3 separate regions of the Homo sapiens genome follow, and regions 2 and 3 are each linked to region 1. The links are contacts of gene promoters, found by promoter capture Hi-C in human tissues and cell types (Jung and others, 2019). All regions are on one chromosome and are shown on one strand. The core of a region is centred on a gene start or on the middle of the fragment in contact, and the rest is flanking DNA. Distances in the headings are between cores, read along the strand shown. Region 1 holds the start of FERMT2 (FERM domain containing kindlin 2). Region 2 overlaps FERMT2 (FERM domain containing kindlin 2). Region 3 overlaps FERMT2 (FERM domain containing kindlin 2).

Evidence for each region. Contacts are between HindIII fragments. The study calls those that stand out against the background at their distance.
Region 2: a contact is called between a fragment that was not itself captured here and the fragment with the promoter of FERMT2 in region 1, in 1 of the 25 tissues and cell types used here (stomach).
Region 3: a contact is called between a fragment that was not itself captured here and the fragment with the promoter of FERMT2 in region 1, in 2 of the 25 tissues and cell types used here (aorta and liver).

What each region holds. Positions count from the first base shown.
Region 1 is chr14:52,948,650-52,952,900 of GRCh38, reverse strand. FERMT2 (FERM domain containing kindlin 2) reads left to right here and starts at 1,851. Exons shown (of 15, transcript NM_006832.3): 1 at 1,851-1,980; 2 at 2,324-2,489. The coding sequence starts at 2,333. RefSeq lists an enhancer at 574-1,152 and a silencer at 1,873-2,082. The HindIII fragment of the contact is 21,614 bases long and covers 1-4,251 here.
Region 2 is chr14:52,899,385-52,903,635 of GRCh38, reverse strand. All of the region lies in intron 3 of FERMT2 (FERM domain containing kindlin 2), which reads left to right. All of the region lies in intron 2 of LOC105370500 (a long non-coding RNA gene), which reads right to left. Among named protein-coding and RNA genes, the nearest start is that of FERMT2, 50 kb to the left of the region's middle. The HindIII fragment of the contact is 5,006 bases long and covers 1-4,251 here.
Region 3 is chr14:52,915,422-52,919,672 of GRCh38, reverse strand. FERMT2 (FERM domain containing kindlin 2) reads left to right here. Exons shown (of 15, transcript NM_006832.3): 3 at 317-550. The region is part of intron 2 of LOC105370500 (a long non-coding RNA gene); the gene reads right to left. Among named protein-coding and RNA genes, the nearest start is that of FERMT2, 34 kb to the left of the region's middle. RefSeq lists an enhancer at 945-1,054. The HindIII fragment of the contact is 5,591 bases long and covers 1-4,251 here.

The DNA.
Region 1 (4,251 bases), core at 602-3,101:
ATAAAGAATAAAAGAAAGAAAAAACTTCCGTGATCTCAAGACCCAGAGAGCTTCTTAACATTTTGCTGTATTTCCTTACAGTCTTTTTCTCTGAACATTTAACGTAAATAAGCTCTTAATTTTATAGCTGCATATCCAGTTCTGCAGTTTTGTGCCCTAACAAGCAATTCCTTAATTTATTAAAAACATTTTCCTGTATATTTTCAACCCCATAATTTACATAAACTCCCTCATCTCCGGACATTCATATTGCTTTCAAGTGAACTATTTGGAACGTCCACGAGTAGAAATATTGGAGAGTAGACAGATAAGAGACTGAAGGCATCAATTTCTCCATGATAACTAGCTAAAAACACTGTAGTGGTTTTCCCTATTTTTTTTTCTGCCAAGCCTTTGGCATCTGACTAAATTTTGCTGCTTTCACTCCTTTCTGAGTTCCACCCCTTTCTTGAGGCCTCTCATCTTGTTTCCCAGTAATGTTAATGAACAAAAGGTTATCTGCCTAGCGAGTTCCTTTTCCAAGCGTTTGAGACAATTCGACAAGATTATGAGACTGCGAACTGGAGTCTTTTATCTTTAAAAGGTATTTTAATCTGAGCCTTCTTGACGTTTATTTTCTGAGCCCATGAATTTGCTAGCGAGGCAGTTTCTCTGGTTTGCTGTTTCTGAAAGGAGTTCCCTCAACAGAGTACAACAGTTAATGGGGGAAGTGGAAACAAAAGCGGGAAGCAGGAGGACCGTTCCCCATCACTAGCCAGTCTTCAACAGGTGAAGTTGTTTAGCTCTTCCTGGTACCTGCAGGCACCGTTCCAGAAGTATTAAAATCCAAGGTGTGGCTGAGGGTGGGATGGAACATGTATCTCCATCTAACAGCTTTAATAGACTGTTAGTTCTAACTTGCATATAAAAACACACAAATAAGTACAAAGAGCTGGAGAAGCTGGGGAAACAGTTTCTGAGTAAAACCTGTGGCACTAGGTTGTGTCTTTCCTTTCCCCTCAGGCAAGAGCATCATCTGTTTGACTGGCATCTGGCTGGAGCGTCCGAAGGGGTTAAGAACGCTTGCAAACTCCTGGGAGTCCAGTAGGAGTTGCTGATGGTGCCGGACATTGCTTGCAAAGCAATTTTTGTGGTTCACCTCCCTCGGGGTTTTCTTATTCTTTTGTAGGACATTCAAGGAGTTGGTTTGGGCATTTACTTTTTAAAGTTTCTCCGTCCCAGACTCCTCTCTCCAGCTCCCGGGGTGCGGCACCTCTCACCTCCCTGAGGCTTTTTGTCTCGCTGCAGGCGTGGGGAGGGGGCGAGAGGACTTTGTTCTCCGAAAACGACCTTGCCCTGGGAATTTCCTGGGGCCGTTTCTCACGGACAAGCCCCCTCTCCCTGCTGCCAGCGCGGACACACGCCGCGGGGGCCCCAGTCCAGCCTGAGCTCTAGACGCCCCGCCGGCCACCAGCGCCCCGGGAAAGGCCGCCCGCGCTCCCCCGCTCCCCCTCCTCAGGGCCCGCCGCCTAGAGCCCGGATGTTGGATTCAATTCCTGAGCCGGGTCCTTCATTTCCATAAAAGGGCAGCGCTCCGCGGGGCCGAGATTGCCGCCCCGCCGCGCCCCCCGCCACCCCCGCGCCGCCCCGCCCCACGCCGCCCCGCCCCGCCCGGGACCCGCAGCCCCCTCCCCCGAGCGCGGCGCCGGGAGGGCGGGGGCAGAGGCGAGGCCGGCCGGACCCGCTCAGGGCAGCTCTGCGGGCGGCGAAGGAGGGAGCCAGCGCGCCCAGCCCAGCCAGGCTCGGACAGAGGGGGCGGGGAGAGGGTGGAGCGCGGGGAGCCAGGCGAGGGGCCGCGACGACGGGACTCCATTAGCCGCTCCGGCCACAGGCAGCGCTTCGCCAGCCGAGGAACCGGACGCGGACACCGCCGCCCCGCGAGCCTCCAGCCCCTCGCCTGTTGCCGCGCGAGTCCCGGGCCCGGAGCGCTAGGAGCGCGCGGTGAGGGAGCGGGACCCCGCCGGGACCCGAGGGGGCGCGGCGGGGAGGGGAACGGGGAGTCAGCCCGCGCTGTGTCTCGGGGCCGGCCGGCAGGTGAAGCCCTCCGCGGTCCGCTAGGCGGGGACGGTGTGGGGCGGGCGGCGCCGGGACCGAGGAACGCTGCGGGGCGAGCGGGGCGTAGGGTCCTCCCGCAGCCCCGGCCGCCGCCGCCCTCCCGAGTTTCTGCCGAAAGCCCCGGGTCCTCCACCACCTCCCAGCCCGTGGCCGGCGCTGCGAATTCGGTGGGATTCGCCTTTCTTTGGGGGAGTGACGCTTACGAGAGCCATTTCCTCCGCGCTCGCAGGAAGGAGCCATGGCTCTGGACGGGATAAGGATGCCAGATGGCTGCTACGCGGACGGGACGTGGGAACTGAGTGTCCATGTGACGGACCTGAACCGCGATGTCACCCTGAGAGTGACCGGCGAGGTGCACATTGGAGGCGTGATGCTTAAGCTGGTGGAGAAACTCGGTGAGTAGCATCCCAGCCGCGTCCAACTAATGACTTCCCAGAATTGGTAGGGGGAGGAAAGAGGCTCACGACGGGGGAGGGGCCCATTTGAGAAATCTTGGCATCTCGCAAATGCTTTTTGGAGATGTAAAATCTTTCAGTATTTAAGCAGATAGACCTGTTCCCCTTTGCGTCTTATTTTGTTTTGCTATTCTCTGAATTTTCATATGTAATGATTCGAGCCTCCCAATTATAACCTTAATTGCGTAGTTACGCGGGACGGGGGATGTGTGCCGGGGAACTCGTTAATTCTTAACATTTACTGACAGAACGATAAAAGAATGAGGAAAGTGTGTTGGGAGGGTGATATTACAGTGTCCGTGGTTATCTATGTCTTCAGCATACCTGAATGTTAGTGACGTTTGGTATAGAGAATGATGCAAAATCCATTTAAGAAAAATCTGTGCTGGAAAATGTGCAACTACTGGCGCCAGTGTGAAGTTTCTGTGGCTGTTCTACGTGGTGGAGTGCATTAAAATGTTCCAGTCATCCACTCTTACTAGGGGTGGGGCAGTGCTTGACAAACTTGGTATCCATAGTCCATGCTCGATGTAAGCCGTTTCGAGCGTTCGGTTTTATATTAATAACAAGCCAAGGAAAGAACTTTGTGTTAAAAAGCAGACTTTGTTAAACTAATTTGAGGTTGACGGTGTTTGCTTGAGTACAAATATGTATTGGATTGATATCCGATTTAAAATAATAAGGTATCTTACAGTATGAAGTGTGTGAAGAGTGTGCAGTACACATTTTTGTGATGAATGAAACCATTTTCATCTGGAAGAGTCAGCTAAATAGATGATTTGATCATAAGAGAAATGCTCAGAGAACTATCTTCCTGAGCTTTAAAGAGCCTTTTGTACATAATACAGTTGTGATAAGATGATTATCTGTGTGGCATTGTCTTTTTAGGCTGGAATTGTTTTTTGTTTTGGTGAAGGGGGGTTGGGGACTTTCTGGGGGTTTTTTTCGTCTTTTTTTTTTTCTTTTTTTTTTTAAACACAGCATTCGTTTTCAAGCTACACTGGGAAAGTAGAGAAGTGCTTATTTGTCAGGAAATCTATTTCTTACCAAAGGATTATTGTATGTAAAGGTACTGAAATAGCACTCTGATGCATTTTGCAAAATAAGGCAGGATTCATTTGGGTGGACCTGCTTTGTACCCCTGCAGGAAGTTTTATTATTGAAGGACCAAAGTGAAGCTCCTTACAAGGTAGCCTCTTCCTTAAGACTGCATTGTTTGGCTCCCTGAGATACAGCTCAGGAAAGAAAATCCTCCTAGGTAGCCCAGTGAAAATTAGATTTTGCTGTATTGATTAACCATTTAACTGGCAGTTAACAGTATTTTTATCTGATTTGAATAAATCAGTCACTGTTTGCAAAATATGTATGAACCTTTTTTGTCCAGCTCTGGTATGAGATTATTTAAGAAGGAAAATAGCAAATATTTGGATATTTTGTTTTCAAAGAAAACAAGCATTTTTGTTAGAGCTTTTCTAATTTATGGTAAATGGACCATATTAATACATTGGTCTCAATAGGAGATATTTTTTATATTGCAAAAAAAGGAGCTGTTGAAGGTGACTGAGACAACTTGTAGTTCTCGAAAGCCAGGCTGTAGCTAATGAATAAATAATGGTTTCTATATTTATTTTGCATTGCTTAGGACTGTTTATTATAGAATCACAGTAATAAATAGAAATATAGAGAATAAACTGCAGACAGA
Region 2 (4,251 bases), core at 1,236-3,735, 50 kb after region 1:
AGTCATTGTTAAATTATCTTTTGGCTTCCAATGTTGCTATTAATAGTCCTGGTAGTGTTTTTTTTTTCTTTTTTCTTTTATTTATTTTCTTTTCTTAAGAGACAGGGTCTTGCTCTGTTGCCCAGGCTGGACTGCAGTGACACAATCACAGCTCACTCTAATCTCTAACTCCTGGCCTCAAGTAATCTTCCTGCTTCAGCTTCTCCAGTAGCTGAGACTACAGGTGTGCACCACCATGCCTGCCTAATTTTTAAATTTTTTGTAGAGATGGGGTATCACTATGTTGCCTAGACTGGTCTTGAGCTCCTGACCTCAAGCAGCCCTCCCACCTTCGTCTCCCAAAGTGCTGAGATTACAGGCATGAGTCACCATGCCTGGCCTCCTAATAGTGTTCTTGATTTTTATTTTTAATCTTCTTTGTAGACTGCCTTTTCTCACTGGAAACTTTTAGGATCTTTTCTTTTCCCTGCCATTTTGAAATTTTGTAACAATGTGCCCTGCCTGGTTAGGGTTTTATTTTCATTCATTGTGATGGAGACTTCTGACCAGGGGATATTTCTTGTATTTATGCAGAGTTGTTTCATAATATTATTTCCTTGGTAATTTCCTCCTCTTTGTTTTCTCTGTTCTCGCTGTTACTGTTAGTCAGACATTGTTCTTGGATCGATCCACTTGCTTGACTTTATATTGGATTTTTTTTTTTTTTTTGGTGGCTATCACATTTTAATTTTCAGTGTTTTGGGGTTTTTTTTTTTTTTTTTTTTTTTGAGACGGAGTCTTGCTCAGCCACCCAGGCTGGAGTACAGTGGTGTGACCCCAGCTCACTGCAGCCTCCACCTCCTGGGTTCAAGTGATTCTCCTGCCTCAGCCTCCCAAGTAGCTGGGATTACAGGCACTCACAACCATGCCTGGCTCATTTTTATATTTTTAGTAGAGATGGGGTTTCACCATGTTGCCCAGGCTGGTCTCGAATTCCTGACTTTGGGTAATCCACCCGCCTCGGCCTCCCAAAGTGCTGGGATTACAGGCATGAGACACTGTGTCTGGCCAGTTTTCAGTGTTTTATATTTCTATCTGGATGTTTGTTATATAGGTATTCTTAAATATATTTAAGATTTGTGGACTTTATATAAGTTATACTTCAACAGAATAGTGAAAATAATGGAAAGGACCCTTCCCCCTCTGTTGTTAATATCTAAAGTCTCTTAATCTCTCTCTCTCTTTTTTTTTTGTTTTTGTTTTGAGACAGAGTTTTGCTGTTGTCGCCCAAGCTGAAGTGCAATGGTGCAATCTCGGCTCACTGCAACCTCCGCCTCCTAGGTTCAAGCAATTCTCCTGCCTCAGCCTCCTGAGTAACTGGGACTACAGATGCACGCCATCATGCCCAGCTAATTTTTGTATTTTTAGTAGAGACAGGGTTTCACCATGTTGGCCAGGCTGATCTTGAATTCCTGACCTCAAGTGATCCACCCACCTCGGCCTCCCAAAGTGCTGGGATTACAGGCGTAAGCCACCGTGCCCGGCCTCTCATTGTTTTTTATATTATCCTGTTTATCTCTTCTAGATGTCATTGTCTTTTTCTCAGCCTCTTCATTAAGCACGTTGTGTTTTGTTCTCTGTAGTCTGCATTGTGTCTGTTTCTCATAAGTTATTTTTCTTTTTGTTTGGTCTCTGTCTTTCCTGTTAGAAGGTTTGTTGGTGTTGCATTGCTGCCATAACAAATTACCATAAATTTAGCAGCCTGAAACAACACGAATTTATCTCACAGTCACTGTAGGTTAAAGGTGTGTACACGTGGCTCACCTGTGTCCTCTATAGACTCTTAAGTGGCTGAAGTTAAGGTGTCAGCAGGGCTGCGTTCCTTCCTGGAGGCTGTGAGAATGAATTTTGCTTGGTAGAATTTGGTTCTTTGTGATTGTAAGACTAAGATTCCCTCTGGCTTGTCTGCTAGGGGTCATTCTCAGCTCCTAGAGGCTCTCCACATTGCTTGTTGCCCCCTTCCTCTATCTTCAAAGCCAGTAACAGCAAGTCAAGGTCTTCTGTCTGAATTTATCTGACCACTCCTTCTGTCTCATCTCTCTTCTTCCTGCCTCTTCTGTGCTGGAGGCCTCATGTGATTACGTTGGGCTCACCCAGATAACCCAGGATAATCTCCCTAAAATCATTTGATAAGTGATCTTAATTCATTTGCAAAAACTCCTCACAGCAGTACCTAGATTGGTGTTTGTGTAACCATGGGTAGGGATATTAAACTTCAGTATTCTGCCCACCCCAGAAGCCTTTCTCAAGTGTCTAGTAATCATTGGCTGGCTGTTCCTATGTTTAATGCTGGGGCTTTTTTTTTTTTTTTTTTTTGAGACAGAGTCTCGCTCTGTCGCCTAGGCTGGAGTGCAGTGGCGCGATCTCGGCTCACTGCAAGCTCCGCCTCCCGGGTTCAAGCCATTCTCCTGCCTCAGCCTCCGGAGTAGCTGGGACTACAGGCGCCCGCCACAACGCCCAGCTAATTTTTTTTTTTTTTTTTTTTTTTTTTGTATTTTTAGTAGAGACCGGGGTTTCACCACGTTAGTCAGGATGGTCTCCATCTCCTGATTTCGTGATCCGCCCGCCTCGGCCTCCCAAAGTGCTAGGATTACAGGCATGAGCCACTGCGCCTGGCCTGGGGCAATATCAGTACCTAATAGGAAGCTCTATATTGGGTGGAGTTTAGCTCATCATCCCTCTGTAAGGTATTTAGACATATTGAGCAAGCTTTTTCAAACATCACTATCTAAAAGATCTTTTCCCTAGGGCTATTCAGGTTCTGTTTGTAAAGGATCCTAAAGGGTGTGTGTCTGTGGAGTAGGTTACCTGAGTTTAATTCAGTAATGGAACAGGAAAGGGATGCTGGGGCGGACTAAATTTTTTCAGGTAGTCTATCTGTTTTCTGTGCCTCAGTTTGATGATTAGAACAGTGAATCAGGGTGTTACCCATTGGTACCTCCTTCTACAAACACCTTGGTTTTATATTTCTCCAGTTTACAAAGTTACTGTTCCATCTGACTTCTGCTTCCCAAAACTTTTCTGAGATTTCTTATCCCATATTTTCTTCCATTTTGGGGGCCCTTATAGGTTTATGTTTTCTTTATTTTTTACGTGATTTTGAAAGGAGTGAAAATAAATGCACGTATTCAATATACTTTTTTAACCAGAAACGCTTTATCTTCCCTGAGAACCCTTCTTTACCTCAGTTTCTCAATTCCCCTCACCCTCATGCTTTTTTATATGTATAGTATTTATATAGCCTGTGTAGATTAGACTAGATTCATCTTCTGTTTGATAACATGCTAATTATAATGAACATTAAATTTCGTTGCTATCACTGGGTGTAGTGGCTCAGGCCTGCTGCATTCCCAGTATTTTGGGAGGCTGAGGCAGGAGGATTGCCTGAGCCTGGGAAGTCGAGGCTGCTGTGACCTGTGAGCACACTAACACTACTTCATTCCAGCCTGGGTGACAGTGAGCCCCTATCTTTAAAACAAACAAACAAACAAAAAAAAACATTGCTATATATTCTGTTATAGAGGTTCTGGAGCATTGCTTTGTGTAGTGCCTCATAAATGCTAGCTTATCCTTATTGAAATGTAAAATTGAGCATAAATTAGTATAGTATTTTGGTATGGCTATTTTAAAGTTTTCATGTCTCACAGTCCTCTGGGTATGTTTTATTTTGGTATAAATCTTGTTTACTTACTTATGTTCTTCTCCAGCCCCACTCTTACACATTTAGAAATCTTATACAGATTTCTAAGTCTGTTAATTACTTCTTGATACAAGGCATACAGTAAATCAGTAAGTCCTAAATTCTCATGTCAGTGAAATGATCAGTATCTTAATGTGGAGAGTTAGGTTTACTTTGTTATTGTTGTAATGAAATGCAAACCACTTTTTCACACTTCATATGCAGCCAATGGCTACCCAGTTCCAATATGGAACTACCTACCATTAGAAAAATAAGTCATTCTTGCTACCCTTCATTCTCTCCCTTCCCTAAACTAGTGATTATCAAGAAGCTGGAGGCTAGGTGCAGTGGCTCACACCTGTAATCCCAGCACTTTGGGAGGCCGAGGAGGGCAGATCACTAGGTCAGGAGATCGTGACTATCCTGGCTAATACGGTGAAACCCTGTCTCTACTAAAAATACAAAAACTTAGCTGGGTGTGGTGGCGGGCGCCCGCAATCCCAGCTACTCCGGAGGCTGAGGCAGGGGAATCG
Region 3 (4,251 bases), core at 661-3,160, 33 kb after region 1:
TCCTATTCTAGCCCTCAGGATTCTGTTTTCTGAGAATAAGAGGGTACTTTCTCTGTCATCCATGTGTCCCATTTTGTAGTTGACTCAAACATTCTTAGTTGCCCTATATATTCTGCCTCAGCTGCCTTGTGTACTGGCTTTTCAGGACAGAGCGTGTTTTCTCAGCTGTTAATGTTTCTTTTGTACCTGTCACATAACAGTAACTTAGTAGTTAATTATTGCTGTTAAATACCCAATTATCTAGTTTTCTGCTTTTAATTTCTCAAAATCACCTTGGTGATTTTTAAGTGATTTGTTTATTGTTTGTTTTTTATAGATGTAAAAAAAGATTGGTCTGACCATGCTCTCTGGTGGGAAAAGAAGAGAACTTGGCTTCTGAAGACACATTGGACCTTAGATAAGTATGGTATTCAGGCAGATGCTAAGCTTCAGTTCACCCCTCAGCACAAACTGCTCCGCCTGCAGCTTCCCAACATGAAGTATGTGAAGGTGAAAGTGAATTTCTCTGATAGAGTCTTCAAAGCTGTTTCTGACATCTGTAAGACTTTTAGTAAGTATTACATAAATTCTTCTTAAAATACGAGTTATGTGATGTACAGATGACCGATGACTGACATAGCTTATCCCAAGGGATGGGGCATGGGCTGAACTATCTGTATATATGTATGTGTGTGAAATTTCTACTTCATTAAAGTTTTTATATTAAGATAAATGCTGGGTTAAGGTGGAACAGGAAGAACCTAGTAGAGATTCTTTCCTTACTAGAATTGTATCTGATATTTAATACTTTATTTTTATGGAGAGGTTAAAGGAACAGGCACTATTTTCAGGGGAACATACATGGCTTTGCAATGTTTCCTTCACATAAGTCACTATTTGATTTTAGTGATTCAGGCAGATTGTGTCACTTCCTCCATTGAAGGCCTGACACAGCTCCTAAGGAAATGACTATGAGTGTTGTCTTCCTTCACCAGTCTACAATTTGAACATCTCTGTAGTATTTCTATTTATGCATTCTGAAATGAGATGTGGGTTACTTTGGCTGACCCAGTTATGTCATATGACAGGAAGTATTCAACCATCTGAGAAAATGTGAACTGCTGTCACTACCACTAGTGCAGAACTCTGCTGTATTTTTTCCTATTTGAGAAATTCTTGGTTAAAGATACATTTAGTGACTTCTCATATTTTAATTCCAAATAAAGTACTGCAGTTTTTTATTCATGTTAAATTTTTAAATTATACTAGTAATTTATAAATACACTCTGTTGTAAAAGAATCAATGAATATAGACATACATAGTAAGCTCCCCCTTCCCCTAAGTAATCATTCTTGACAGTTTGGTGATTTTCTATGCATTTATTTGTCCATACATATCGGATTTTTTTTAATAAATAGGAGCATTTTATATGTATTTTTTAAACTTAGTAATGTCTTAGAGATCTTTCTATGTGTTATACATTCTTTTAAGCTGTAATTCAGAGTATAGACGTACTATTAATTTACATCCAATTACTTCTTGGCCTTTTTGGCTAAGATCAAGTATAATTTATAACCACATTTCCCTGTTAATGATCAGTTAGGTTGCTTCACTCTTAGAGCAAATGCTGCAACATTTTCAAATGTTTTAAATATTGCTGAAAACATTTGAAAATATTTTAGTTGGGCTAGCGCCAGAGTACCCAATCTTCCTTGCTGGTGTCAGCACCCACACTCACTGCTAGAGCCTGTGGGCAAATGCTGCTCCTGTACAATGCCTCAAGCACTGACCTGTGGACAGTATGGAGGTGCTGAGACTACCTACCTCTTAACCCAGAGCCCTGCCTGCTGCTTATGCCTGTAGGCTTGGAGCTTGGAGGAGTCTGAATCCTCACCCATTTCTTGTGTTTAGTTTGGGCTGTGGCTTCCCTTAAACCAATACCAACTTTTTTCTGTCTTCAAGAATCACTCATTATTTACCCTCTTACTGTAGTTTCCTGTCTCCTAGCACTGTTATGGATGTTCATCTTCCCTCCCCGCCTACAATTTTTAAATATCTTTTGCTGTCATTTCAGGGGATTCGGGATGTAGGAGGGGAGATACAGGTAGATTCACATTGCCTTTTTGATCTAATGCCCTTGAAATTTTTTTTAAAGTGAAACAGGGTTTTTATTATTATTATTAAAATAGAGAAAAATACAAAGAATACCAAATTCCCATTATCTGGAATTAATAATTGTTGATATTTTGTCATTTTGTCAAATGACAAATATGACTTGAAGTCAAAGTAATACTGGTAAAATTCTTGAGTCTCATTATCCTAACTTCCCTTTACAAAGCAACTACTATCATAAGTTCAGTGTGTATCCAGTACTGTAAAATACACAGACACACACATACACACACACACACACACACACACGTATCTCTGTGTGTATATATCCATAAACTGTATATGTTATTGCCATTACCACGTAGGTATTTTCTTACTAAGTTTTGTACGTGTGTGCAAGAATTTCTCTCGAGTATCCACCTAGAAGTAGAAGTAAAATTGCTGTTTTAAATATATACATAATTCATTTCAGAGTACTGTCAAATTGTCTCCCAGTTGGTTATACCAGTTTATATTCCAACTAGCAATGTATGAAAACCCGTTGCCACAAATCCTCACTAACACTTGATTATGGTCTGTTTTGTTGTTTTTGTTTCCAAGAGAAAAAGACAGTATTTTGTTTTAGTTTACAAAGCTAAATATGTTTTTAAATCATTATTGGACATCTAAGTTCCTTTTTTTAATTGTTTATATCATTTGTCCATTTTTGAGAAATTAATAAACTGTAGTTTTTACAGGAGTTGTAGGTTCACAGCAAAGTTGAGCAAAAGTACAGAGAATTCCCACATACCCTCTGTCCTCACACATGCACAACCTTCCCTACTCTCAAAGTCTGTACCAGAATGGTACATTTATTGTAACTGGTGAACCTACCTTGACATACCATTATCACTCAGTGACAGTAGTTTATGTTAGGGTTCACTTCTGGTGTTGTACATGCTGTGGGCTTGGAAAAATATATACTCGTGTATCTACTGTTGTGGTATTGTACAGAATAGTTTGACTGTCCTAAAAATCTTCTGTGCTCTGCCTATTCATCCCTCTCTCCTCATCACCACCACTCATCCTTTTACCTAGTTTTGCCCTTTCCAGAATATCATATGTTTGGACTCATACAGTATGTAGCCTTTTCATATTGGTTTCTTTCACCTCGTAATAGGCATTTAAGTTTCCTCCATGTTTTTTTGTGGCTTGATAGCTTATTTCTTTTTTTTTTCTTTTCTTCTTCTTTTTTTTTTGAGACGAGTCTCGCTCTGTTGCCCAGGCTGGAATGCAATGGCGTGATTTTGGCTCACTGCAACCTCCACTTCCCGGGTTCAAGCAATTCTTCTGCCTCAGCCTCCCAAGTAGCTGGGATTACAGGCACCTGCCACCAAACCGGGCTAATTTTTGTATTTTTAGTATAGATGGGGTTTCATCATGTTGGCCAGGCTGGTCTCGAACTCCTGACCTCAGGCGATCCACCCACCTCCGCCTCCCAAAGTGCTGGGATTACAGGTGTGAACCACCAAGCCCAGCCAGCTCATTTCTTTTTAGTGCTAAATAGTATTCCATCGTCTGGATGTGTCACAGCTTGTTTATCCACTCACCAAACGATATCTTGGTTGCTTCATTTTGAATAAAGCTGCTGTAAACATCTGTATGCAGGCTTTCAAGTGGACATATGTCTGTTCGTCCATTCTTCTTTTGTTTTATCGTTCACCATTGATTTGTAGTTCTTTATAAATTCTAATATGTGCTGCAGATAATTTCTCCTGGTCTATTATAAACCTTTGTTCGTGATTGATTTTATGTACTTTTTATTTTTGTCTTTTTTGGTCATGTAGAAGTTAACATTGGTTTGTGTTTGTGGGGTATTGTTTAAAAAAGCTATTCCTATTTTGAATTACAGGTATCATCTATATTTTCTGCTAGTACTCTTAGAGTTTTGTTTTTCATGTTTACTGCTTTTATCTACTTAGAATTTACTTTTGTGCATTTGGTGAAATAGAGATGTAGTATAGCATATTTTAGGAGAAAATGCTAGCCAACACTGTTTATTGAATTGTCTGTTATTTCTCCACATAAGCATAATGTCAGCTCTGTCATAAACCAAAATTCCATGTTGTGTGGATCTGTTTTTGTATGCTCTCTTCTTTTCCATTGATCCATTTATATGT